Linked DNA regions of Homo sapiens: all the other regions are linked to region 1. Evidence: promoter capture Hi-C in 16 types of primary human blood cells and fetal thymus (Javierre and others, 2016). All regions are on one chromosome and are shown on one strand. The core of a region is centred on a gene start or on the middle of the fragment in contact, and the rest is flanking DNA. Distances in the headings are between cores, read along the strand shown.

What was found. The method cuts DNA at HindIII sites, captures the fragments that hold promoters and counts their contacts. A CHiCAGO score of 5 or more calls a contact.
Region 2: a contact is called between a fragment that was not itself captured here and the fragment with the promoter of LMAN2L in region 1, in 1 of 17 cell types (naive CD8 T cells). The highest score is 5.3, in naive CD8 T cells.
Region 3: a contact is called between a fragment that was not itself captured here and the fragment with the promoter of LMAN2L in region 1, in 6 of 17 cell types (total CD4 T cells, naive CD8 T cells, non-activated CD4 T cells and 3 more). The highest score is 7.2, in total CD4 T cells.
Region 4: a fragment that was not itself captured here is called in contact with the fragment with the promoter of LMAN2L in region 1 in 2 of 17 cell types (naive CD4 T cells and total CD4 T cells); the score reaches 5.6 in naive CD4 T cells.
Region 5: a fragment that was not itself captured here is called in contact with the fragment with the promoter of LMAN2L in region 1 in 1 of 17 cell types (activated CD4 T cells); the score reaches 5.2 in activated CD4 T cells.

Annotation. Positions count from the first base shown.
Region 1 is chr2:96,737,982-96,743,802 of GRCh38, reverse strand. It overlaps LMAN2L (lectin, mannose binding 2 like), which reads left to right and starts at 3,739. Exons shown (of 8, transcript NM_030805.4): 1 at 3,739-3,949; 2 at 5,736-5,821. The coding sequence starts at 3,763. RefSeq lists enhancers at 3,486-4,423, 4,424-5,363. The HindIII fragment of the contact is 9,784 bases long and covers 1-5,821 here.
Region 2 is chr2:96,293,269-96,296,496 of GRCh38, reverse strand. It overlaps SNRNP200 (small nuclear ribonucleoprotein U5 subunit 200), which reads left to right. Exons shown (of 45, transcript NM_014014.5): 14 at 839-1,009; 15 at 2,988-3,181. Among named protein-coding and RNA genes, the nearest start is that of SNRNP200, 11 kb to the left of the region's middle. The HindIII fragment of the contact is 1,472 bases long and covers 1,194-2,665 here.
Region 3 is chr2:96,353,463-96,359,283 of GRCh38, reverse strand. NCAPH (non-SMC condensin I complex subunit H) reads right to left here. Exons shown (of 18, transcript NM_015341.5): 9 at 4,896-5,101; 10 at 91-239. Among named protein-coding and RNA genes, the nearest start is that of NCAPH, 21 kb to the right of the region's middle. The HindIII fragment of the contact is 4,220 bases long and covers 1,326-5,545 here.
Region 4 is chr2:96,388,082-96,393,902 of GRCh38, reverse strand. No RefSeq gene overlaps it. Among named protein-coding and RNA genes, the nearest start is that of NCAPH, 55 kb to the right of the region's middle. The HindIII fragment of the contact is 6,592 bases long and covers 1-5,809 here.
Region 5 is chr2:96,405,768-96,411,588 of GRCh38, reverse strand. No RefSeq gene overlaps it. Among named protein-coding and RNA genes, the nearest start is that of NCAPH, 73 kb to the right of the region's middle. The HindIII fragment of the contact is 601 bases long and covers 2,241-2,841 here.

The DNA of each region.
Region 1 (5,821 bases), core at 2,490-4,989:
TTTTCCTCATCACACAGAATTTTACAATGAGATTTCTGCTTGTGTCAATCTATCAGAAATTCAGCTGACAGGGTGCATGACACTGCGAATGAATTTAATGCCTTTGAACTGAACACACATGGTCCTGACTTAATGATGGTTTGACTTAGGATTTTTAGACTTTAGGATGGGTTTAGTTTTTCTGTAGGTAACCCCATTGTAAGTTGAGGACCATCTGTACTTAAAAATTATACGCTGTATTTTATGTATTTTTTTTCTTTTTTTTTTTTGAGACAGAGTTTCACTCTTGTTGCCTAGGCTGGAGTGCAGTGGCGCGATCTTGGCTCACCGCAACCTCCACTTCCCAGGTTCAAGCGATTCTCCTGCCTCAGCCTCCCAACTAGCTGGGATTACAGGCATGCGCCACCACACCCGGCTAATTTTGTATTTTTAGTAGAGACGGGGTTTCTTCATGTTGGTCAGGCTGGTCTCGAACTCCCGACCTCAGATGAGCCACCCACCTCGGCCTCCCAAAGTGCTGGGATTACAGGTGTGAGCCACCGCGCCCGGCCTTTATGTGCATTTTACTACAATTAAAAATTCATCTTGCAGAGAAATGCAATGGAAATAATTTATTCAAAACAATTAGAACCCCTACTATGTGCTGGGTGATAGGTTGGGGTTGGGGAAATGGGTGGGGCCTGAGTTAGGAAATGAGTAAGACCTGCTTCCTGTGGTCCTGGAGCTCCCAGCCTTGCTGCGGAGACAAACCCATAATCTGTTAATTGAGCTCCATAATTCCAGGTGACACACATTACAGTACACATGCGTAGCGCCTGATTTCAGTCAGGATGCAAAGGGCTTTGAATGCTACACTAAGGACTTTGGATTTTGGTAATTGGGAGTTATGAATGGTTTTAAAGCCAGTGTATGACACGAACAGATTCATTGCAATTCCTAAAGTCTTAGCACCAGACATTTGACATTGTAGGGTGTCAAAGACTGATGGCAGTGACAGGCTGGGCACCATGGCTCACACCTGTAATCTCAGCACTTTGAGAGATGAGGTGGGAGGATCGCTTAAGGCCAGAAGTTCAAAACCAGCCTGGGCAACATAGAGACCCCCATCTTTAGAAAAAATTTTAAAAATTAGCTGAGGCTCACCCAGCAGTTTGAGACTGTAGTGAGCTATGATCACAGTACTGCACCCCAGCCTGATGGATTGAGACCCCATTTCTTCTTTTTTTTGTTTTTTTGAGACGGATCTGCTGCTCAGGCTGGAGTATGGTGGTGGGATCTTCTTGACTCACTGCAACCTCTACCTCCTGGGTTCAAGTGATTCTCCTGCCTCAGCCTTCCAAGTATCTGGGATTACAGGCACCTGCCACCACGCCCATTTAATTTTTGTATATATATGTATATATATATTTTTCGAGACGAAGTCTCACTGTGTTGCCCAGGCTGGAGTGCTGTGGTGCGGTCTCGGCTCACTGCAACCTCCGCCTTCTGGGTTCAAGTGATTCTCCTGCCTCAGCCTCCTGAGTAGCTGGGACTACAGGCGTGTGCCACCACGGCTGGCTAATTTTTTGTATTTTTAGTAGAGATGGGGTTTCACCATGTTGGCCAGGATGGTCTTGAACTCCTGACCTCAGGTGATCCGCCTGCCTCCCAAAGTGCTGGGATTACAGGCCTGAGCCACCGTGCCCAGCCAAGACCCCATCTCTTTAAAAAAAATAGCTGTGACAGCTTTAATTTTAAAAAGTTGATCCCCTGTAAAGTAGGCTCATAATTATGTTTATCTTATTAAATATATTCATGCTCAGGAAAGCAAGAGAGTGTTAACTTTGGTTAAGTCTATTGGGAAGACATAAACACAGATCTGTCAATTGCTCTATATGAGATGTGCATGGAACACTTTGAGAGCTCAGACAGGAGAATCTACCCTGCCTGAGAGGTTTGAGAAGGACCTCCAGAAGGAAGTGGACTGCAGAAAAAAAAAAGAGGGAAGGGAAGCTGGAGCATAAAGATGGAGGAAAAGAGTCATGGGCAATAAGGCCAGGGCCAGATGGCAGGGGGCTTTGTGTGCCAAATTGAGGGGCTTGAATCTCCTCCCCACAGGTGATGGTGAGCCATCAAAGGCCCGGTTAATAAGAATGATGATGATGAAATAGCGCTTATGGCTTGGTGCGGTGGCTTACACCTCTAATCCCAGCACTTTGGGAGGCTGAGGAGAGAGGATCACTGAAGTCTAGAAGTATGAGACAAATCTGGGCAACTTAGTGAGACCTCCCCCACAACCCCATAGCTACAAAAAATAAAAATTAGCAAGGTGAGGTGGCACACACCTGTAGTCCCAGCTACTTGAGAGGCTGAAGTGGGAAGATCCCTTGAGTCCAGGAGGTTGAGGCTGTGGTCATGCCACTGCACTCCAGCCTGGGTGACAGAGAGAGACCCTGTCTCAAAAACAAAAACAAAAACAAAAACAAAAAAAAAAAGAAAAGAAAAAAGAAAGAAATAGTGCTTACTACACGCAAGGCACTGTTCTAAGAGGTTTACCAATATTGACTCATTTAACCCTGACACTTACCATGGTTAGATAGTTTGGATCACTTTAGTGGCTACGTGGAGACCAGTCTGGACACATGTTGTGGTGCCGGATAAAGACGAAGGGATGTGCCTGTAGTCCCAGTAACTCAGGAGGCTAAGGTGGCAGGATCACTTCAGCCAGGGAGGGAGAGGCTGGAGCTGAGATTGTGCCACTGCACTCCAGCCTGGGCAACAGAGCAAGACCTTGTCTCTCTTTTTTTTTTTTTTTTTGAGATGGAGTTTTGCTCTATGTGGCCCAGGCTGGAGTGCAATGGCTTGGTCTCGGCTCACTGCAACCTCTGCCTCCCAGGTTCAAGCGATTCTCCTGCCTCAGCCTCCCAGTAGCTGGGATTACAGGCACGTGCCACCACGCCTGGCTAATTTTTTTTTTTATTTTTAATAGAGACGGGGTTTCTCCACCTTGGTCAGGCTGGTCTCGAACTCCCAACCTCAGGTGATCCGCCTGCCTCGGCCTCCCAAAGTGCTGGGATTACAGGCGTGAGCCACCGCGCCTGGCCAAGACCTCGTCTCAAACCAAAAAGAAAAAAAAGAGGAAGGGAGGAAAGGAGGTGATGGCTTTTAGAATTAATTAATTTGTGTGCTTTCAGTTCTTTTATATCTGTAGGTTGCTTGATGGCCCAGACTATCACGGCAAAGGAGTCATTTGCATTTGAAGAGAATGTGTCTTCCGCAGTTGTTAGGTGGAGTTTCTATAAATATCATCAGGTCAAGTTAGTTGGTAGTGCTGTTCAAGTCTTTTATAAATTGATAGTTTTCCAGCTATTTTACGGATTTGTCTATTTCTCCTTTCACTGCTATATCTTCCAAATTGATTCAGAGAGCTGCAGTCAGGAGCGTACTATTGCAGAGAGGATAGAATGTTTGGGACCAGAAGAAACGTTTTATCTCTTTAAATTTACTCTCGTACGCAGAAAACAAAATACAAATAAACTACGTATCCCAGCAAGCCTAGTGGAACTCAGGGCAAATGCAAATAAGGGGGGGGGCTGGGCATTCGGCTACGCCCCTTTTCTGGGTTGGCAAGGCAACTGATACAGAAGCCAGCCAATCGGTGATATAGTCACCTGCAGGGGCGGGGGCTTGACGAAAGCCAATAGGACGCAGGGCAGATGGCTCTTCGGGCCAATGGGTTGGGCGACGGGGCGGGCTTTTGATGAAGGGTCGTTGGTGGGAAAGATGGCGGCGACTCTGGGACCCCTTGGGTCGTGGCAGCAGTGGCGGCGATGTTTGTCGGCTCGGGATGGGTCCAGGATGTTACTCCTTCTTCTTTTGTTGGGGTCTGGGCAGGGGCCACAGCAAGTCGGGGCGGGTCAAACGTTCGAGTACTTGAAACGGGAGCACTCGCTGTCGAAGCCCTACCAGGGTGAGGCGCCCAGGGTGAGGTGGTCGTGCAGTGGGGCGGGCTTCGGGACTTGATTTCAGGGGTAGAGGCGGGGGCGGCGAAGGGCTTCGTGGCCCGGAGGAAACTGCTGGCGGTGGTGGGGCCCACGGAGACTCCCTCCGCGTTTGGGAGCCACAGGTCTGAAAGGCAGGAGTTAGGTGTGCCTGCCAAGCTCTGGAAGTTTCCAGTAGGTAAAGGCAGGGCTGTCGGGTGCCACTAGTACTAGGCCTGGAGTTAGACAGGAGGAGTTTGGGAAGGGGAGAGAATTGAGAATGGTGAGGAGTGATTGAGGGCTACTAGCAATGAGCCAGTCTCCAGATGGACCTGTGGATGTGCTAGAAATAAAGCAGGAGGAAGAACTGGGGTAGAACTTGAACGAAATGAGAAGATGATAAATTTATGTTGCTGGGTAGAACCACCTTCTCTTCTCCAGCCTAGGGGCCCTGTTGGTGAAAGAGGTTAGGGTTCACAGAACTCTAAGCACAGCTTATCAGCCAGAAAATTAATGCAGTTAGCCACAAAACGATGACAAACCAGTGCAGATGGCTTAACTAACACAAGTCTTTCCCCACTAAGGCGTAGGTAGTGGGACAGAAAACAATTCAAAGTGCAAGAGTATACTCTACTACTAAGGGTAATCATTTATTCACTTACATGCCTGGAGTGCCTCTGTGCTGTCTCTTTGCTAATGCTTATGGGTTTGCAGACACAAAGTTTTCATTCTTAAAGAAGTTTATAGGTGAGGGTACAGGGAGTAGCTTCACACTTTAAGGATTGTTTAAAGAAAGAATGTGACGGCTGGGGCGGTGGCTCACGCCTGTAATCTCCGCACTTTGGGAGGCCGAGGTGGGCGGATCACGAGGTCAGGAGATTGAGACCATCCTAGCTAACACGGTGAAACCCCATCTCTGCTGAAAATACAAAAAAATTAGCCAGGTGTGGTGGCGGGCGCCTGTAGTCCCAGCTACTCAGGAGGCTGAGGCAGGAGAATGGCGTGAACCCGGGAGGCAGAGCTTACAGTGAGCCGAGGTCATGCCACTGCACTTCAGCCTGGGCAACAGAGCGAGACTCCATCTCAAAGAAAAAAAAAAAAGGAAGAATGTGACTAAGCCCCGGAGGCCTGAGGGTCAAACTCTTTTTATTTATATTTATATATTTTTAGAGACAAGGTCTTGTTCCGTTGCCTAGGCTGGAGTGCAGTGGCACAATCATGGCTCATGCAGTTTCAATCTCCTGGGCTCAAGCGATGCTCCCAACTCAGCCTCCTGAGTAGCTAGGACTATGGACAAGGACTACCACACCTGGCTAATTTTTTTTTTGGTAAAGACAGGGTCTTTCTATGTTGCCCAGGCTGGTCTCAAATTGCTGACCTCAAGATGCCCTCCCTCCACATCATCTCAAAGTGTGGGGATTACATGGGTGAGCCACTGCACCTGGCCTGTCAAACTCTTTTTGATATAACTCAGGAAAATTTTTTTCTTTTACGATGCTGAAGTTTACTCACATATAAAACGGGAAGAATGGATGTGAGCTATGGTTACTGTAACATGCATAAAGTGAGAGTTCTGATGTGCTTTGGGGTCCTTACCTGATAAAGGCCTTGTGAAAGCTGTAGAGATGGTAAGATTCATGACTGAGAGAAGATAGGAGATTGAGTGACATTAAAGGGGGAAAAAGATGATGGCTCAGCTTTCAGAGGCTCTGTGGTGGCTGCTTTCTGAATGGATTGGTGTTGAAAAGTATGAACTGATCTACTTCCTTCCTGTAGGTGTGGGCACAGGCAGTTCCTCACTGTGGAATCTGATGGGCAATGCCATGGTGATGACCCAGTATATCCGCCTTACCCCAGATATG
Region 2 (3,228 bases), core at 680-3,179, 450 kb after region 1:
ACCTATGAAAGTGTTGTGGACAGGCCTGGACCTCACCGCTTCTTGTATTAGGGCATCTCTGGCATGCCTCCTGGGATTGTTGTTATTTTTTATTTTTCTCTCCCCATTTCCAAGATGGAACTTAACCCAGGTACAGAGTTTCTGAAGTAAGAATGTCCTGAGCCATCTTTTACAAGGGTTAGCATCTTTCTTTCATCCTCTCCATGGCAATTTTCTGCAGTTCGTATCATTTGTGTTATTGAAGTGTTTATGAAACATCAAATGGATGTGGATGATAATAGACCTAGTGGTGTATTGTAGGTCTTCTTATCTACAAGTTGCCATTTCTTCCTCTTGTGTACAGAGTTCCCAGAGGTCTTTTTTTTTGAGACAGGGTCTCGCTGTCGCCCAAGCTGGAGTGCAATGGCACAATCATGGCTCACTGCAGCCTTAACTTCCCAGGTTCAAGTGATCCTCCCACTTCAGCCTCCCTGGTAGCTGTGATTATAGACATGTACTACTAGATTAGCTAATTTTTATATTTTTTGTAGAGACAGGGTTTCACCATGGTCTAGAACTCCTGGGCTCAAGCATTCTGCCTGCGTTGGCCTCTGAAAGTGCTAGAATTACAGGCATGAGCCACCATGCCTGGCCCCCAGAGATCTTTTGTCTGCTTTATTTGCCTGAGTTAAATTTGGATTTGTTTGAGGAAGATATGTTCATAAGATCTGATTCGCCTTGTATTCACCTGATGGGTTGATACCTGCTCCCAATGCCCTACACTCCAATTGCCCAAACAGAAAGCATGGTGTCCAGGCCCCTTCAAGCATTCCTGCCTGATGTAGTTTTCCTCCCACAGCGCCTGGCCACTTATGGCATCACTGTTGCTGAACTGACTGGGGACCACCAGCTGTGCAAAGAAGAGATCAGTGCCACTCAGATCATCGTCTGCACCCCCGAGAAGTGGGACATCATCACCCGCAAGGGTGGTGAGCGCACCTACACCCAGCTGGTGCGGCTCATCATTCTGGTGAGTTGGGAGCAGTCGTAGAATATAGAGTCCAGTTGTGTCAGGGCGGGTTTGCTGGGTTTTCATGCGAAATGTTTCTTTGCTGCCTTTTCTGTAGGCACTAGCCTTTGTAATGACTAGTCCTCCAATTCCGTAGGATGAGATCCATCTTCTCCACGATGACAGAGGTCCTGTCTTAGAAGCTTTGGTGGCCAGGGCCATCCAAAACATTATAATGACAGCTATTGTCAGCTTGTGTTTGCCATCTTATTTATTTATTTATTTGTTTGTTTGTTTGTTTGAGATGGAGTCTAGCTCTGTCGCCCAGGCTGAGTACAGTGGCACGATCTTGGCTCACTGCAGCCTCTGCCTCCCGAGTTCAAGCAATTCTCCTGCCTCAGCCTCCCCTGTAGCTGGAATTACAGGCGCCTGCCACCATGCCCAGCTAATTTTTATATTTTTAGTAGAGACTGGGTTTCACTGTGTTGGCCAGGCTGGTCTCGAACTCCTGACCTCGTGATCTACCCACCTCAGCCTCCCAAAGTTCTGGGATTACAAGCGTGAGCCACTGCGCCTAGCCTGCCATGTTATTCTTTATATATTTTTTTATGTCTGAAATATTTTACTACACTTGATCTTAAGCCAAAAGGCCAAGAAGCTATGTCTGAAATATTTTGAAACAAATGTAAACAGATAGACAAAAAACCATCATATCCAACATCATTTAGGGTTTTATAAGTAAAAGAATCCATTCTCTGAGGGAATGAGTGAGGAAGCAGGATATTGTATTCCATATACACAGAAACTTCCAGAGATTAGTGACTAAGTCTGAGTATAGTTTAAGTTGTCTGGGAAAAGCAAGAAAGGAGACTTCACGTGTTGGTTTTCAGTGTTCTGGAGCAGGGGTTGGCAGTCTGTGGGTACTGGCTTTGTTCTGTTGGAACATAGTTACACCCATTTGTTTATGTATTGTTTACAGCTGCTTTTGGCTGCAATGGCAGAGCTGAGTATTTGCAATAGGGGCTGCGTGGGCCAAAGCCTGAAATACTGACTGTCTGGCTTTTTTTTTTTAGACGGAGTTTCACTCTTGTTGCCCAGGCTGGAGTGCGATGATGCAATCTCAGCTCACTACAGCCTCCGCCTCCCGGGTTCAAGCAGTTCTCCTGCCTCAGTCTCCCGAGTAGCTGGGATTACAGTTGCCCGCCACCATGCCCAGCTAATTTTTTGTATTTTTAGTAGAAATGGGGTTTCACCAATCTGATGGCCAGGCTGGTCTCGAACTCCTGGCCTTGGGTGATGCACCTACCTCAGCCTCCCAAAGTGCTGGGATTACAGGCGTGAGCCACTGCCCCCGGCTTTTTTTTTTTTTTTTTTTTGAGATGGAGCATCTGACTTTTTAAAAAAAACATTTCTGGTCCCTGCTTTAGAGCTTTGCTACTTGAAGCCTGATCCATGGTTGGGGTCATAGCAGCAGCAGCATGGAATAGGAGCTTGTTAGAAATGCAGGATTTGTGGCCTCACCCCACACCTGCTGAATACAATCTCCTTTTTAACAACATCCCCTGGCTTTGGGATACTTAATAAAATTTGAGATGCACTGCTTTAGACTATTCAAACTCATCATTTGATGTGTGATAGCTTTTGTTCTTGGGAACTATAACTGCCAGAGGTGAAGCTTCTGATCAGATCATATTTATATCCTTTTTCATAAAGAAGTTTACCTTTAAGTAAAGTTTAAACTCATTTATCTGAGTTTCAGAATTTCTTTATACAAAGTATGTTACTGAACTGTACCAAAGCAACTCATGGTCAGAGTCTGTTACTTTCTGGAGTATTTCATGGGAAATATTGTCTCCATCCTTTGGGCATCTGTGGCTTGGGATCCCTTGTCTTTTTTCTTAGGCATATTAGGTTATATGCCTACAATATGGGACAATTCCAGGAAAAGGGACTATGTATCTCTAGTGCTAGAGGTAATTTCTGTCCTCCAATTCCGTAGGATGAGATTCATCTTCTCCACGATGACAGAGGTCCTGTCTTAGAAGCTTTAGTGGCCAGGGCCATCCGAAACATTGAGATGACCCAAGAGGATGTCCGACTCATTGGTCTCAGTGCCACCCTACCCAACTATGAAGATGTAGCCACCTTTCTACGTGTTGACCCTGCCAAGGGTCTCTTTTACTTTGACAACAGGTATCAGGAAAGACTGGGCAAAGTTCTGCCAAGGTGACCATCCTGCT
Region 3 (5,821 bases), core at 2,186-4,685, 380 kb after region 1:
GTGACTGGCATTTCTTTTCCTTGGCTAACTGCTGACTGGCTGGTCATCTACACTACTTCTTTTCTTAAAATTCCACCTAGAATTACATACGTTTGCGTCGAGGCCTAAAGCGCCAGTGATCCGGGCCAGCCCACATCGACATGGTCCGAGGACTGAAATAAGAATATTCTCCAGGTTTCATAGACAGAAGGGGGCACATGGTCCTGATGTCTCCATCCCCAAGGGAAATCATTTCTTCCCTGTAACACACATATTTGTACATGTACAATACATATATTATAATGCTGTATTTACATATGAAGCATATGTCCGCAAATGAGCTGCATTTCTGTGAGTCCAATACAAATAACTTCATTATTAATAATTCCTTTTACTTCTCAAGTACTTTTCCTTCCCTTAATTTTATAACAATATAATCATATCTATACAAGTACTCTGGAAGTTTCAAAGTGCACCATAAAATGCTAGTCTACCTAATTTGAGAGACAAGATGACAAAAGTAAAGAGAATTCTTTTGGCTGGGCGCGGTGGCTCACGCTTGTAATCCCAGCACTTTGGGAGGCCAAGGCGGGCGGATCACAAGGTCAGGAGATCGAGACCACCCTGGCTAACACAGTGAAACGCCGTCTCTACTAAAAATACAAAAAATTAGCCGGGCGTGGTGGCGGGCGCCTGTAGTCCCAGCTACTCCGGAGGCTGAGGCAGGAGAATGGCGTGAACCCAGGAGGTGGAGCTTGCAGTGAGCCGAGATCGCGCCACTGCACTCCAGCCTGGGTGACAGAGTGAGACTCCGTCTCAAAAAAAAAAGAGAATTCCTTTGGGTAAGAATCTACAGCTAGTAAAATGCCGGAGCTGGGAGCTGGACACAAGTCCCTTAATCCCAGCCTCGGGGTCTTTCCACACACATGCTTCTTGCCACACAAGATGACAAATCCCTCATTCGTCACCATCCTTCTGTAAATGAGGGCTCCAAAAGATACCGCTATAGTTCCTACTAAAAGTGAAAAAACATGTTTGTCTAATTATTTAGTTCCTCTAACGCTTTGGGGGCTCCCCTTATAATCTGTTAGGTCATCCAGCTTTATTCTTTGCCGTGTGTAAAGTGTCTAAGTGGTCAGTGCAGCATGGCAGTTTCAGTTTGGTTTTTCACTCTTTCTACATTTTTAAAAAATAGAGATGGGGTCTCACTATGTTGGTCAGGTTGGTCTTGAACTCCTAGCCTCAAGCAATCCTCCTGCCTCAGCCTCCCAAAGTGCTAGGATTACAGGCGTGTCAGGATTATACCGTGCCCAGCCATTTTTCACTCTTTCCACAAGGTACAAGCTTTCTCCTAAAGGGCTCCAACATGTCAGAAAGGACGCTGGTGCTGCTGTACTGCCCTCTGAAGGTAAGGTAACCAAGAAGTTTCAGAAGAGTGGCCTTGTATTTGTATTGAGCCTACATATAGTTCCCGTTTATATAAGCCATATGGAATAAGCTAAAAAGGCTTTTAAAAGGGGATTTTGTCTTTACATACAGAATTTTAAAAAACAAAAACAGGAGACTACATTTGTGCATTTATTGTGTAATTAAAACCTAATTTAAAAAAATAAAATACACAATAAAAAAATCACATTTCTAGTCTGTATGGCCTAGTGCTGTAACAGAATCTGATACCTAGCATGTTATTAAGTAACAAATGCACTGTGCTGTGAACTCCAGAGGTAGAAGGAAGAAGTTTCAACAGCATCCCCACTCCATTCTGATGGATATTCTTCCATTAGGAAGAGTGGCTCCCATTCCCAATTCTGGTGATGGAGCTGGACAGAGGCTCTGCAGGATTTTTGAACTGTAGTAATTCAATAATTCTTTCAACATACAATGCTATGTCGCAGGCATCCTACCAGTCCCAATTTCACCACTCAACAACTAAATGAATCCACCTATAGTCCAAAATAGTCTATCCATTTTTCAAGGCTGCCCACTTCAAACATCTCCAGTCCCTCCAGGAAAACTCTGTATTTCTTCTATCCCCTCCCCATAATATCACAGGGTCCCTCCTTCAATTTAGCCATGGTTCAATCCACTGTCCTAACACTGGCAAGATAAGGTCTCCTCCCAGCTGGCTCAGCACATCAGGCAGCATGCAGCCGAATGTTTCATTCTCGCATGCGTGAAGTAGGCTGTGTTCTGGGCTTTGACCTCCGACTAGGTCATTAACCACAGTAACTGCCTTATGTAAGCATGCTGGTACTACAGAAGGGTCGGCCAGAGAACACTTGGCTCCAAGTGTTCTTGGGCTGCTGTTGCTGCTGCACAGAGAGGGAGCTCACTCTTAGACATCAAGCACTTTTGCAGACCAGTCCTTACCAATGCATGTGCACAAAGAGCTCCACCTTTTACGCTTGCAGTTGTCAATGTGCTGCCATGCAGAGACCAATAACGTGAGGCATCTACACAACACTGGTATTTATCACTCAGCATTGCCCCACCCCACCTTCATCCAGAGGCCTCCGAAGACCTCTCAGTAGAGTACAGTGGTTTTCAGCCCTGGGTGCAGAACACAATCACCCGGGGATGGTAACGTGATGTCTGGCCCCCTCTACCCACTGAGATGCTCAGGTGGTGTGGACTGGAGCCTGCCATCCAAAGCTCACTATATGTGGCCAGGACTGGTCAAAGGTGCTGGGTGGCAACCAGCTCCACCCCATTAAACTCTCTGAGCCTGTTTCCTCATCTGTAAAATGAGGATAATAGGACCTAATTATAGGGTTGCTGCAATAAAATAATTAATTTTAGATATTATGTAAATTATGTGAAATAACACACATAAGGCACCTGGCGCAGCATCTTGCACAAAGAATAAGGAGCTCAATAAATATCAGATATTGTTATTATCAACTGGTCCCAACCTTGCATTTTATGGATGAGAAAACAAAGACCGCAAAAGGTGATAACATTGCCCCACATCTCAGGGCTAGTAACGGCAAGATCAGATCTACTCCAGATCAAACACTCACTGAATTCCCAGGAAAGGCCAGCGATGTGGCAAGGGGAGGGGATTTAAGGATGGGTAAAATCTGAGACTAGAACTGCAGCCTCCCACGCCTAATGTACTAGGTAGGATAGAGTCTAAGATTTTGTGCTGTTTGGAATAGGGGAGAGAAGTGGAGACATTTGTTCAAAATAACCAGCAGAAAACATCTTCCAGAAACCAAATAAAAGTCATGGAAGCCCTTTGTTATTGTCAGTCCCTCAGATGTCACCTCACTGTTTAAGGAAAGTGATAGCTTTTCTCTGACATTTGAAAATGATGTTTTTAAGAGTTCATCCCATCAACCTATCATTTCTCCCTTCTTAGAAGACAGGATGGCCAGGCGCAGTGGCTCACGCCTGTAATCCCAGCACTTTGGGAGGCCGAGGTGGGAGGATCATGAGGTCAGGAGATCGAGACCATCCTGGCTAACATGGTGAAACCCCGTCTCTAATAAAAAAATTAGTCAGGCATGGTGGCGGGCGCCTGTAGTCCCAGCTACTCGGGAGGCTAAGGCAGGAGAATGGTGTGAACCCGGGAGGCAGAGCTTGCAGTGAGCAGAGATCGCGCTGCTGCACTCCAGCCTGGGCGACAGACCGAGACTCTGTCTCAAAAAAAAAAAAAACAAAAAAACATAAAAACAAAAAAGACACGATGAGAATGGGGCAAAATTGCAGCCATGTGAACAGTACAATTCCGGAGAGCAGGGTGCTACTGAGCCTGGATGGGCAGTGGCGCCTTGATAATGTCTTTAAAAGACATTATCAGCCTAATCGTTTCCCACAAGGGCAGACAAAATGAGCTTAGGAAAGACATCCGAGCAGGGTCTTGAAGAGATTTTTGTCATAGCGGGAAATTATACTAAGCAACTTCTAAGGTTTTACTCAAAACCAGCTTGGCTGTCCCCAATCCCAGTTCTGCAAAGCTCTGTTACAGACATAGGAGTTAACAGAGGGACTGTTCACTCTAATCTCATGAAATCTCCTACCCCCAGGCCCATTGAAGACCTTTACAGGACCATGACATTAAAGTGTTGTGAGACCCTGCTTCCAAATCATATTTAGAATTAAAACAATACTAACCTATTAAGTACATAAAGGCCAACCAAGTTCTGATTATTTTTATGATGTTTACTAGGGTAATCAAAAATTTAATTACTAAACCAATTCTTCTTCTTCTCCTCCAAATATTCTCAATTTATTGGTTGGTTTTGTTTTCCCTGCCTTGCTCGTCCCCAGTCTGCCCATCTGGTAACCCAACACTGCCTAACCCCCACTTGCTTACCTTTCAGGTGGTAAATTGGTGGCTTAGAGTCACCAACAGCCACACTATAAGCAATGTGTACAAAGGGAGCATGCTCTCTGCTACCAAAATGCACGTGGTAACAACAGCCACATTGACGTAATTACTAGATCCCAGGTGCTTTGTTCCAAACGCTTTACATTGTTCTAATCCTTACAAACTCTTGCAATGTCAGTTTTATAACCAAAGTGGCTAAGCCGACATTCAAAGCCAGGTGTGATTCCTCTGAGTCAGAAAGGCTCAGCTGAAAAGCTCAGCTGATGTGTATGACACAGCACACCAGCCCAGCCAATCAGACATCAAATTCAATCACCCCAGCAGGAAATCTGTTAAGAACTGATAGTGCCCAGGCATGGTGGCTCACACCTGAAATCCTGGCACCTTGGGAGGCCAAAGCAGGAGGATTGCTTGAGCCCCAAGAGTTCAAGACCAGCCTGGGCAATGCAGTGAGATGCCCGTCTCTATTTTTGGGGGGGGAAAAAAAAAGAAAGAAAAATTTTTTAATTAGAAAAAAAAGAAAAAGAAAAAAGAACCAATGGAAAACTCCTATAGAAACACTTTCGGACTCTGAGAGCCTTACTGGCAGCTCTGAACCTGGCAGGGCTCCTTCCAGCTCCTGAACTCTTCATGATCCCCAACTGCGGTGTGGTCAGGTTCATCGTTGGCATCAAAGTCATCCCCCAGGGACCCATCGGGGAAGTCTCCACAGTCACTCTCGTCAACTTCAGCATTGATGTCAAATACCTGGTCATTCTTCTTAAACTTGTCTACCAGGGCCGACACAGACTGGAGGGACAAAAGAGGGTTCTGTAATTCTCATTCCTATAACCACCCCAAATCACCACTGGAGGGACAGCCTTCTCACCCTTAAATTTCAGTTTCCAGCCTCCTCCTTCCCCTGAGCCACCCTTCCCTTTCCCATCCCCTGCCTGCCTGGGCCAAGACTCTCACGATAGTACAGTGAGGGGGAAGTTTATATTGTGCAGCACAGGAGGAAGCTGCATTGTTGTCAGGCACATTTTGTAAAACATGAAACAGGATTCTGTACCCATTAACTACATGTTTGCAGAAAACAGTTTTCCATGGAGATCATTTATTTTGGAAATTGTAGTAAGTAGGCTAAAGGGGGCCATGCTAAAAATACACAGAGGAAAGCTCTACACATGACAATTTCTCAGGAAACTCTGTGCCAAGGGATTCAACCCCAAAGAGCAGGAAATTCCTCAAGCTTGACGGCAGCCTAAGAGATTCGAGGCCACTGGGATAACCACATTCAAGAGTAAATCTAATTATAAATGTTCACTGATTAATGCCAGGGCCGCCTTACCCTAGGATAGCAGAAGAGAGGACATAAAGCTGATCCTGGAACTCACTTACCTCTAGAATAGTCCTGCTGGGGTTCACAACCCTACCCTCCTCCCTCAGGGTTTTTGTCCCTACAGAAGTGCCAAAGGAAATATTTTCTGTACTCCTGGCTAAATAAAGATGATGCCACAGTTTTGGTTC
Region 4 (5,821 bases), core at 1,264-3,763, 350 kb after region 1:
ACATTAGGCCTGTGAAGCAAGCAAGGCAGGGATGGTTATGCCTGTCTGGTGATGAGGAATCTGAGGCGTACAGAGGCTAGGGGTCTGGTCCAGCACTGCACTGTTAGGCAATTTTAAGAGTACCTAGCCCGCACCTCCAACCCTATGTCCTATGGTTGCTCACTGATTAATTGTCAGTTTGTCTTTTGTTTTAAAAGGGATCTGGCCAGGTGCGGTGGCTCACGTCTGTAATCCTAGCACTTTGGGAGGCTGAGGTGGGTGGATTGTCTGAGCTCAGGAGTTCAAGACCAGCCTGGGTAACACGGTGAAACCCCGTCTCTACTAAAATACAAAAAAAAATTAGCTGGGTATGGCAGCATGCACCTGTATTCCCAGCTACTTGGGAGGCTGAGGCAGGAGAATCGCTTGAACCCTGGAGGTGGAGGTTGTAGTGAGCTGAGATCACGCCATTGTTCTCCAGCCTGGGTGACAGAGCGAGACTCCGTCAAAAAAAAAAAAAAAAAGGATCACTTACTCATTCAGTACATGTTTATTGAGTACCTACTATATATTGCTTTAGAGGCTGGAGATCCGGTTGGTACGGAAGGCAAGGTCCCTCCCCTAGGGAGCTACCGTTCTGGAGTTAACAACTGAGATCATTTTCAATAGCAATAAGGCCATGGAGACAATAAAAGAGGCTGAGGTGAGAGGGACGTGGGGGATATGTTGGGAGGTCAGGAAAGGACACACCAGGAAGTAACATGGAAGCTGAATCTTTAAGATCCCTCTTTCTTGGAGTGGCCTTTTCTCGCAGAGTCAACACTTGGAAACCTGGGAACACAGCATTCCATGCAGAGGGAACAGCAAGCGGAAATGGGCATGGTTTGCTCCAGGGACAGATATAAAAGGTCAGTGTGCAGGGGAAGGATGAAGAGCTGGGAGGCTCAGTGGACAGGAGGGGAGAGGGCTGGCGGAGGCCACCTGATGGTGTGGGGTCAACAATACATGCTTGGGTGCTGAGTGCAGTGGGAAACACACACATACAATCACACACTGATACAGTTTCAATACATGATGCCACGTAATCTCATGTTGAATTGTAATCCCCAATATTGAAGATGGGGCCTGATGAAAGGTGATTGGAACATGGTGTAGAATTCTCATGAATGGTTTAGCACCATCTTCTTGGTGCTGTCATTGCAATAGTGACTGAGTTCACGTGAGATCTGGTCATTTAAAAGTGTGTGGCATCTCCCCCACTGCACTCTCTTTCTCTTTTTTTTTTTTTTAAAAGACAGGATCTTGCTCTGTCACCCAGGCTGTGGTGCAGTGGCACAACCTTGACTCACTGCAACCCCCACCTTCCGGGTTCAAGTGATTCTCGTGCCTCAGCCTCCTGAATAGCTGGGATCACAGGTGCGCACCACCACGCCCAGCTAATTTTTGTATTTTTTGTAGTGACGTGGTTTAACCATGTTGGCCAGGCTGGTCTCAAACTCCTGACCTCAAGTGATCTGCCCACCTTGGCCTCCCAAAGTGCTGGGATTCCAGGTGTGAGCCACTGCACCTGGCCCCCTACTCTCTTTCTCTTGCTCCTGCTCTGCTATGTGAGATGTCTGCTCCTGCTTCATCTTCCACTGTGAGTAAAAGCTCCCTGAGGTCTCCCCAGAAGCTGAGCTGATGCCTGTGTCATGCTTCCTATAGGCTGCAGAACCATGAGCCAATTAAACCTCTTTATAAATTACCCAGTCTCAGGTATTACTTTTCAGCAATGCAAGATAATACACACACATGCAAGGGCTAATACACACACACAAACACACACACACACACGCAACTGGTGGAGAGTGACCATTTGGTAGAGGCAGGAGTTAAGTGAGCACGCCAACCCCCAAACCAACAGTGATAAATGTCATGGGAATGACACAGCGAAGGTTGCTGCCTAGGCATTAGAAGCAGAACCACACACCCAAATGGTTCAAGCAGGTGACCAGAGGTAAGAACTTAGAAGCAGCTCTCTCACCTAGCAGCTCCCCACTTTTCCTGCTGCTTCTGTTTAATGGACCATTCAGGCATTTGTGCATGAACTTAAGGTGACCCACATCCTATTTCCTTATCTATACTCCTGGGCTCTGATGAGCCTCCTTATACATACTGTCAGTTGCTGCCTCTCTCTCTGTCTCTCCCTTTCTTTCTCTCTCTCTCTCTCTCTCTTTCTGCCTGACCCTTTGTTCCTGCTTCGTGTGAGCCAGGGACAGGAGACATCCTCCTGACTCACTGTGCCTTCCCTGCCCAGGATCTGAAAGTAATAAATCTTTCAGCTTGTTTCTGATTATGGTGTACTGCGCCCTCCATCTGAAGAACCAGGGGCTACCCCAGGCGGAGTTTTCCCTGGGATGCCAGGGAGAACACAAGGTCAGGATCCTAGCATCAGAGCAATGGGCAGGCAGGACATGGGTCAGACAAGGGCCACCAGGTGTCTGCCAGTATAAACAAGTTTCCCAGTGAGGGACACCTGGTCATGGATCAGACAACTAAGCAGCAGGCTGTCCACAGTTAGAAGTAACGAAAGGCACAGTGTAAACACCCACATCCTGCTCCTGCTTATTTCGTGTTAGGGCGGTGTTGCTAGGCACTGTGGTACCGGACCCCCAATTTAGCTGGGGGCTTTCAAAACAGTAAAATACTGGATTTAAAAAAAATACTTAAAGGCCAGGTATGGTGGCTCACACCTGTAATCCTAACACTTTAGGAGGCCAAGGCAGAAGGATTCCTTGATGCTGGGAGTTCAAGACCAGTCTTGGCAACATAGAGAGACTCCATCTCTACAAAACTTTCTTTTTTTTTTTTTTAATAAGTTGGGCATAGTGGCATGTGCCTGTTGTCCTAGCTACTCCAAAAGCTGAGGCAGGAAGATCGCTTGAGCCCAGAGGTTCAAGATTACAATGAGCTATGATCATGCCACTGCACTCCAGCCTGGGCAACAGAGTGAGACTCTGTGTATTAAAAAAAAAAAAAAAATCAAAACAAAACAAAACAAAAACCCCAAACTTAAAGATACTGGAAATCAGACAGAAACCAGAAGAGTTTTATTTATTTTTTATTTTTTTCGAGACAGGATCTTGCTCTGTAGCCCCAGGCTGGAATGAATTGGTGCAAACACGGCTCATTGCAGCTTCGACCTCCTGGGCTTAGGTGATCCTCTCACCTCAGCCTCCTGAGTAGCTGGGACTACAGGCCCATGCCACCATGCCTGGCTAATTTTTGTATTTTTTGTAGAGATGAGGTCTCGCCACAATGCCCAGGCTGGTCTTGAACTTTTGGGCTCAAGTGATCCTCTGGCCTCAAAGTGATCCTCTGGCCTCAAGCTCCCAAAGTGCTGGGATTACAGGCATAAGCCACTGCACTCAGCCATAGTTGTTTTTTGTTTTTTGAGACAGGGTCTGGCTTTGTCGCCCGGGCTGAAGTGCAGTGGCACAATTGCAACTCACTGTAGCCTTGACCTCCTGGGCTCAAGCCATCCTTCCACCTCAGCCTCCCAAGTAGCTATGACCACAGGCGTGTGACACCACGCCTGGAAAATTTATGTATTGATTGATTGATTTTTTTTCAGAGACAGGGTCTCACTGTTGCCTAGGCTGGTCTCAAATTCTTGGGCTTAAGTGATCCTACTGCCTCGGCCTCCCAAAGTGCTGGGATTACAGGCCTGAGCCACCACACCCTGCCTCAGAAGAGTTTTAAACTAAAACTAAAATCAAAACAAGCAAACAACAAGACAGTTCTGGGCATGAGCTGCTTTGCTCCACTGACAGTTCAGCTGTGCCTACGTGAAGCAAACCCCTCAGGGCCTGGTGAAAGAGTCTTCTCTTGAAAGACAGCTATGCAGAACAAGGGCTGTGGGTCTGATGCTCCTTGCCTCAAACACATGCATCTTGGGTTTCAAAAAGCTGAAGTTAAGGACAGAGCACACAGCAGGCAGAGCGGCTGGAAATTAGGGGAATCCCTAGAAGCAAGGAAGTCACAGCCACGATGAACCCCATGTCTGCCCAAATACTTGGCTAGCCACCAAATCTGGCAGGCAGAGGAAAGACCTGTGGGATCAGGCTTAAAGCAATAGCGGGTCACAAAAAGAACAGATATCAATAACTACACTGTGAGGGATGTGAAGTTTGCAGATTGAATCCAGACAATTAACTGCTTACTGGAATAAAAATCCAAGCATCTTTAGAAGAACATGACAGAATCCAAAGTCACTATAACATTGTATCTACAATATCCAATGTTCAACCAAAAGTTACTAAACATGCAAAGAAACAGGAATATGTGATCTCTATTCAGGAAAAGGGGCAAATAGAAATTGATGCTATGCGGGCCCAGATGTTTGATTTAGCAAAGACTTCCGAGTAGCTATTATAAATATGTTTAAATAATTGAAGGAAAATATACAATCAATGAAGAAATGGAGAATCTCAAATTAAAAATAAAAACAATAAAAAAAAGGCCGGGCGCGGTGGCTCATGCTTGTAGTCCCAGCACTTTGGGAGGCCGAGGCGGGCGGATGATGAGGTCAGGAGATCGAGACCACGGTGAAACCCTGTCTCTACTAAAAATACAAAAAAAAATTAGCCGGGCGCGGTGGCGGGCGCCTGTAGTCCCAGCTACTCAGAGAGGCTGAGGCAGAAGAATGGCGTGAACCCGGGAGGCGGAGCTTGCAGTGAGCCGAGATCGCGCCACTGCACTCCAGCCTGGGTGACAGAGACTCTGTCTCAAAAAAAAAAAAAAAAAAAAAAAAAATAGAATAAATAAATAAATAAAATAAAAAATAAATAAAAATGTAATCCCAGCACTTTGGGAGGCTGAGGTGAGCAGATCATCTGAGGTCGGGAGTTTGAGACCAGCCTGGCCAACATGGCAAAACCCCATCTCTACTAAAAATACAAAAATTAGCCAGGTGTGGTGCACACCCATAATCCCAGCTTCTTAGGAGGCTGAGGCAGGAGAATTGCCTGAACCTGGGAGGCAGAGGTTGCAGTGAGTCAAGATCATGCCACCGCACTCTGGCCTGGGTGACAGAACCAGAATCTGTCTCAGAAAAATAAATACATAAATAAAAATAAAAATAGAAATCCTAGGCTGGGATGGTGGCTCATGCCTGTAATTCCAGAGCTTTGGGAGGCCAAGGCAGGAGGATCCCTTGAGCCTAGGAGTTCAAGACCAGCCTGGGCAACATACTGAAACCCTGTTTCTACAAAAAAAATTTAGCCAGGTGTGGTGGCACATGCCTGTAATCCTACTTCCTGTAGCTCCTAGGGAGACTGAGGCAGGAGTATTGCTTGGGCCCAGGAGTTTGATGAGCTATGGTCACACCATTGCACTCCAACCTAGCTAACAGAGCGAGACCCTGTCTCTACATTAAAAAAAAAAAAAGGCTGGATGAGGTGGCTCATGCCTGTAATCCCAGCACTTTGTGAGGCCAGGGCGGGCAGATCATTTGAGGTCAGGAGTTTGAGACCAGCCTGGCCAACATGGCGAAACCTCGTCTCTACTAAAAATACAAAAATTAGCTGGGCATGATGGTGTGTGCCTGTAATCCCAGCTACTTCGGAGGCTGAGGCAGGAGAATCACTTGAAACCAGGAGGTGGAGGTTGCAGTGAGCTGAGATTGCACCACTGCACTACAACCTGGGCAACAGAGCAAGACTCTATCTAAAAAAAAAAAAAAGGAAATCCTATAGCTGAAAACTATGTAATTGAAATAAAAATTGTGCTATATAGGCTTGTCTCATTCTGTTTGGGTTGCTGTAACCAAATTCTATAGACTGGGTAAGCTTCTAAAGAACAG
Region 5 (5,821 bases), core at 1,292-3,791, 330 kb after region 1:
GTGTGCACCTGTAGTCCCAGCTACTCAGGAGGCTAAGGTGGGAGGATCTATAGAGCCTGGGAGTTTGAGGCTGCAGTGAGCTCTCATTGCACTACTGCCCTCCAGCCTGAGCAACACAGCAAGACCCTGTCCCGAAAAAGAGAAAAAAAAAAAAAAAAAAAAATCCCAGGTAAACTCAGAGCTGCCCTCAGAAAGAATAGATGGTGGCCTTTGGTAAAAGATTCTCTCTGAGACCTTTAAAAGTGTCAGACTTCAGTGTTTATTTTCCTGAGTTAATCTTTCCTAGATTCAGATAAGGGAGGCATTACCCCCAAAACCGGGTTTGTTTGCCTGGTGAGTAACAAATGACTCTCCATGAGGATGCAGGTTTTGATCAATAAAAGTTTTATTACCTGGCCCAAGTAGGTAGAACCCTGGGAGTATTCTCCAAGGCAGTGTCCCCTGAGGGAAAGTGACAGGAGGGTTTCATGGGGCGATGGAGGGGGAGAGGATGTGTCTTCGCATGTGGAGGAGGGGTCCCAGAGGTGCAGACGCAGTGATCCTCATGCCAGCACATAGGTCGCATGTGATGGTGATGGAGCTGAGCTGCAGCCCTTCCTGGGGTGGAGACTTTAGCATGGTAACAAGAAAGGTCACTTGGGTTCATCTGTAAGTTGCTAGGGTCTGTTGGGAGCTGGTTTGAATCAAGTGGGTGACTGCATTCTAAACAGGGCTTGGAAGAAACAGGCTGCAGGGCAGGAGGCTGTAAAACAGGCTGATAGGCTGGGCGTGGGGGTTCAAGCCTGTAATCTAACACTTTGAGAGGCCAAGGTGGGTGGATCACCTGAGGTCAGGAGTTCAAGACCAGCCTGGTCAACATGGTGAAACCCTGTCTCTACTAAAAATACAAAAATTAGCTGGGCGTGGTAGCACGAGCCTGTAGTCCCAGCTACTCGGGAGGCTGAGGCAGGAGAAATCCTTGAACCAGGGAGGTGGAGTTCGCAGTGAACCGAGATCACACTCCAGCCTGGCACTCCAGCCTGAGTGAAAGAGCGAGACTCTGTCTCAAAAAAAACAAAAAACAAAACAAAACAAAAAAACCCAAAACAGGCTGATTGCTTAAGTTGATTAAATTCCTATAATCCTTTGAGATCCCCCAACCCCCTCACCCCTGCACCCCACTTGCTTACAGGGTCCTCAGGGAAAGCCTGGGCATTGATTTCACTAACATAGATTTTCTCTCCAGGTGCAACTCTCCCTCACGAAAGGCAGCTTTTCAAAGTCCTTCTTCTGTTTGCAGCCTCTCTGAATAGCCATCTCAAAATAAGCCAAAGAGGTATATTTTGGGGTGAAATATTCTCGTTTCCTTTGGGGGAACACAAACATTCAACCCATAACAGAGACAGTCCCTGTCAATGTCATGTGTTAACAGTCAGGAGGCAGCCCAGGGTGGAGCGGCAGGCTGGAGACCCGGGATTGCTGGGCTGAGATCCGGCTGGGGCATCCCTGAGAGCAGGAGGTGGCTGGACCGCGGGAGGTCAGTGCCTGCCTGGCGGGGAGCCCCAAGGGCACCTGTCTGGGCTAGCCAAGAGGAGAGCATCCGCCCCGGGAGGAGTGCAGGCAGGACTCCCGCTGACAGGGCCTGCTTGGTAGATGCTGGGCAAGTAATTAGAGAAGGGACGATTACCCACCACAGGCTGTTGGCTCTGGATGTAAAAGAAATTGACATGAGGCCAAAAGAGTTTTCCCAGACGAGGCTTCATTAGAGCTTATGCCTGGACATAAGGGAGGCAGCACTAGAGAGGAGAGAGAGAGAGAGAGAGAGAGAGAGAGTGATAGAGAGACAGAGAGAGAGAGTGACGGAGAGACAGAGAGTGAGAGACAGAGAGAGACAGAGACAGAGAAAAAGACAGAAAGACAGAGAAAGAGACAGAAGGACAGAGACAGAGAGAGACAGAAAGACAGTGAGAGAAAGGCAGAGAGAGCGACAGAAAGAGAGAGAGACAGAGAGAGAGAGAGGGAGAGAGAGAGAGAGAATTTCCTGACTGACTCTCCAAAAAGAGCTGGTGGAGATTTTTTTATTAGACAAAGCATAGGAACTAATATCAGGGGTAGGGCGAGCAGGCTGAGCCGGGCAGACCTCATAAGGGGTAGGGTGTGCAGGTCAGCATATTTGATTGCCATGGTTTTCATGGTCAGGATAACCATGACCCATTAATAATAATGGGCCACCTGGTGGTCTGGCTGGTAGCAACAAAGCTTTAAATCAATTGTTCAGAATTCCTTCCTGGGATGCGACACTGTGCAACCTTGGTTATCTCCTCAGGCCAGTTCCTGGAATTTTTTTTTTTCTTTTTTTTGAGACAGGGTCTTGCTGTGTTGCCAGGCTGGAGTACAATGGCACCATCATGACTCACTGCAGACTTGACCTCCCTGGGCTCAAGTGATCCTCCCACCTCAGACTCCTGAGTAGCTGGGACTACACGTGTTTGTCACTATGCTCAGCTAATTTTTGTATTTTTTTGGAGAGACGGGGTTTTGTCATGTTGCCCAAGCAGGTCTAAAACTTACAGACTCAAGCGATCCGCCTGCCTCGCCTCTCAAAATGCTAGGATTACACATGTGAGCCACTGCGCCTGGCCAGAGTTCTTTAAGTAAGCGGCATGGTTAAACATTATGGCATCGTGGGGTAGTGGTGTGGGTTTTGTGATCCGTGGGAATGCTGTAGTGGGGCTGAGCTGAAGCCAAGTCTTATCTCTACTGTCTCAGTACTCTCACTCCAGCTATTACCGAGCAAATGGGCTTGCTGCCTGACTGCACAGAAGCCAACACTGCTGCTCCAGCTTTGAGAAAAGAAAAGCTTCATTGTGAGGCAGACCAGCAAGGAGACAGGAGGCACAGCTCAAACTTCTCTCTCCAATTTGGGGTGTGGGGCACGTTTTAAGGGGTCAGAGGGCAAGGGAAAGTATTTAGGAATGTTGGCTTGGCAGGGTCTGATTGGAGGGCTTCAAATTTAACCATTTGTGGTAAGGTATGTTGAGGCAGATTTTAGCCCCAGATCTTCCAGGCCCATAGACTCCTTCCTTTTGAAAGGGTTCCAGTGTTCAGGTTCTGGTCATGTCCCAGTCCTGTTGGCTCTGCAGGAAGAAATCATTGGTTCCGGTGTTGTTAGAGGTCAAAGCTTTTTCTATTGTGCCTGGACTACATGACTCGCAGTTTTGGCTTGGTTATACCTACAAGGTAACTTGACATTCTCTTATCAACAGAGTAGGCTCAGTTTGGTCTGGTTCTGTGATTACGCCACTCCTTGTATCCTTTCAAATAACCATTTCGGGCCAGGCACAGTGGCTCACATCTGTAATCCCAGCACTTTGGGAGGCCGAGGCAGGAGGATCACTTGAGGTCAGGAGTTTGAGACCAGCCTGGCTAACATACAAAAACTAGCCAGTCAAGGTTGCAGGAGCCTGTAATCCCAGCTACTCAGGAGGCTCAGGCAAGATAATCGTTTGAACCCGAAAGGCGGAGGTTGCAGTGAGCCGAGGTCGCGCCATTGCACTCCAGCCTGGACAATGGAGCAAGACTCTGTCTCAAACAAACAAAAATAAAACAAAACAAAAAAAACCCCACCCATTTCGTTACAGTTTGAGAGAGTCTGAGAGGCTGAAAGGACTGGATCCTTTCTGTGTGGGTGTTGATGTCACAGATTTGACATCATTGTCCCCGGGCCCCTCTGGGGGAGCTGGCCCCTGCAGTCCCTGAGGCTGAGTCTGGGCGTGAAAGGCTTGCTTTTGGCTGGCACACTGGGACCGTTGTTTTCAGCCAACAGATGAAACCCAGCTAGTTGGAAGAGGCCCATTCAACCCCCATGTTTACACATGAGGAGCTGGGGGCCAGGGCGACAGGAAGTGGCTTGCCCATGTCAGTGGAGCTGGTGGCAGAGCATCCGCTTGGCAGAGGATGGCAGCCCACAGCCCCAGGCGATGGAGGCACCCCATTTCCAGTGTGGCTGCTTCGTGCTTGCTGTTGACTTGCAGTTTGGAACCTTGTACTGCGTGCTTCATTCGCAGGACAGAAGCTAAATCTGCGCCCTCTGCCGTCCTCTCAGAGGAAGTGCCTGTATTTGGTGAGAACGGGGGTGAGAGAGGCTCCAAGATGCCCCTTGGCAGAAATTTCCAGTAATTGGCTGGGAGGAGGCTCACCCCACCTGAGCAGGAGCAAGCGGCGGTAGGGAACACAGCGCGCACGAAATAGCAAATTTCACTGATTATTGAGAAGAAAGGAGAGGGGGTGTATTTGGTGAGCTGGAGGTGGTCTCCTCACATATCTGTTAGGATGTTTGCAGCCATGAGCAACAGGAAACCTAATTCCAATGACCTAAACAAGGAGGCTTTGTCATCCCACATCACAGGCAGCCCCAAGGCAAGGCAACTCCGGGTCAGCTACTTTAGTAGCTCAATTTGGTACCATCAAGAATCATAAATCATGGATGGGCACAGAGGCTCGTGCCTGTAATCCCAGCACTCTGGGAGGCTGAAGCGGGAGGATCACTTGAAGCCAGAAGTTGGAGGCCAGCCTGGGCAATATAGTAAGACCCTATCTCTACAAAAAAATGTGTAGAGATGTGGTGGCACATGCCTATACTCCCCCCTACTTGAGAGGCGAGGCAAGAGGATCGCTTAAGGCCAGGAGTTTGAGGCTGCAGTGAGCTATGATTATGGCACTGAAATCCAGCCTGGGTAACCGAGCAAGACCCCCACTCTCTAAAAAAAGAATCATAAATCATAACATCGCTTTGTACTCCAACAATTTATACAATTATAAAATATTGATGTACAACTTTAAAAAAACAGGAGCGAAAAAAGAGTCCTTCCCCCTCAGCCATCCTCAGCATACAGCCTGGCCCCACCTCCCATGCCTGCCAGATGGCAGCTGCAGGCCCACGCAGACTCCCAGCTCTGCGGGGAAGATTCGCTGTGAGTTTTTTTAAGAAACTATCCCCCATCGGCCAGGCGCGGTGGCTCATGCCTGTAATCCCAGCACTTTGGGAGGCCTAGGCGGGCAGATCACAAGGTCAGGAGATCGAGACCATCCTGGCTAACATGGTGAAACCTCGTCTCTACTAAAAACATAAAAAATTAGCCGGGCGTGGTGGCGGGCACCTGTAGTCCCAGCTACTCGGGAGGCTGAGGCAGGAGAATGGCGTGAACCCAGGAGGCAGAGCTTGCAGTGAGCCGAGATCGCGCCACTGCACTCCAGCCTAGGGGACAGAGCGAGACTCCATCTAAAAAAACAAAAAAGAAAAGAAAAGAAAAAAAGAAAAAGAAACTAAGAAACTATCCCCCAGCAAATGTTCCTGTACATCTCATTGGCCAGAGCTGCATCACATGCCCATTTGTAAACCAACAATGGACAAGGGGAATGGGGCCACTGTGACTGGTTCAGTCAATCAGATTGGGCTGAGCTGGAGATGGGACTCTGGTCACCTTCCCTGAGCCTGTGGGCCAGATGGGCAAAGAAGGAAGACAAGGCTGACTGTGGAGAGCCAGCAGTGTTACAACGCCTCCCCACCTGTTTTAGAACCTGCCAAAGTCAGGGTTGGACAAAAGGGTTTCACACCCTGTTTTATTCCCTGTCAAAGCCCACACAGTATCCAGATGCTCCCCTTGTTGAAATGGGGTCTTTGGCAGTCCAGCCTCCTGGGTCTCGGTGGGCAGGGTGTCGGGAAGACACGGCCTCTACTGGGGTGTCTGGTGACTGTTCCAGCAGGAGGGGATGGAGGGGCACCCTAACTCTATTTCAGAGCCCTTCTAGGCCTGAGATTGTGGCCCGGATGGCCTCTTAC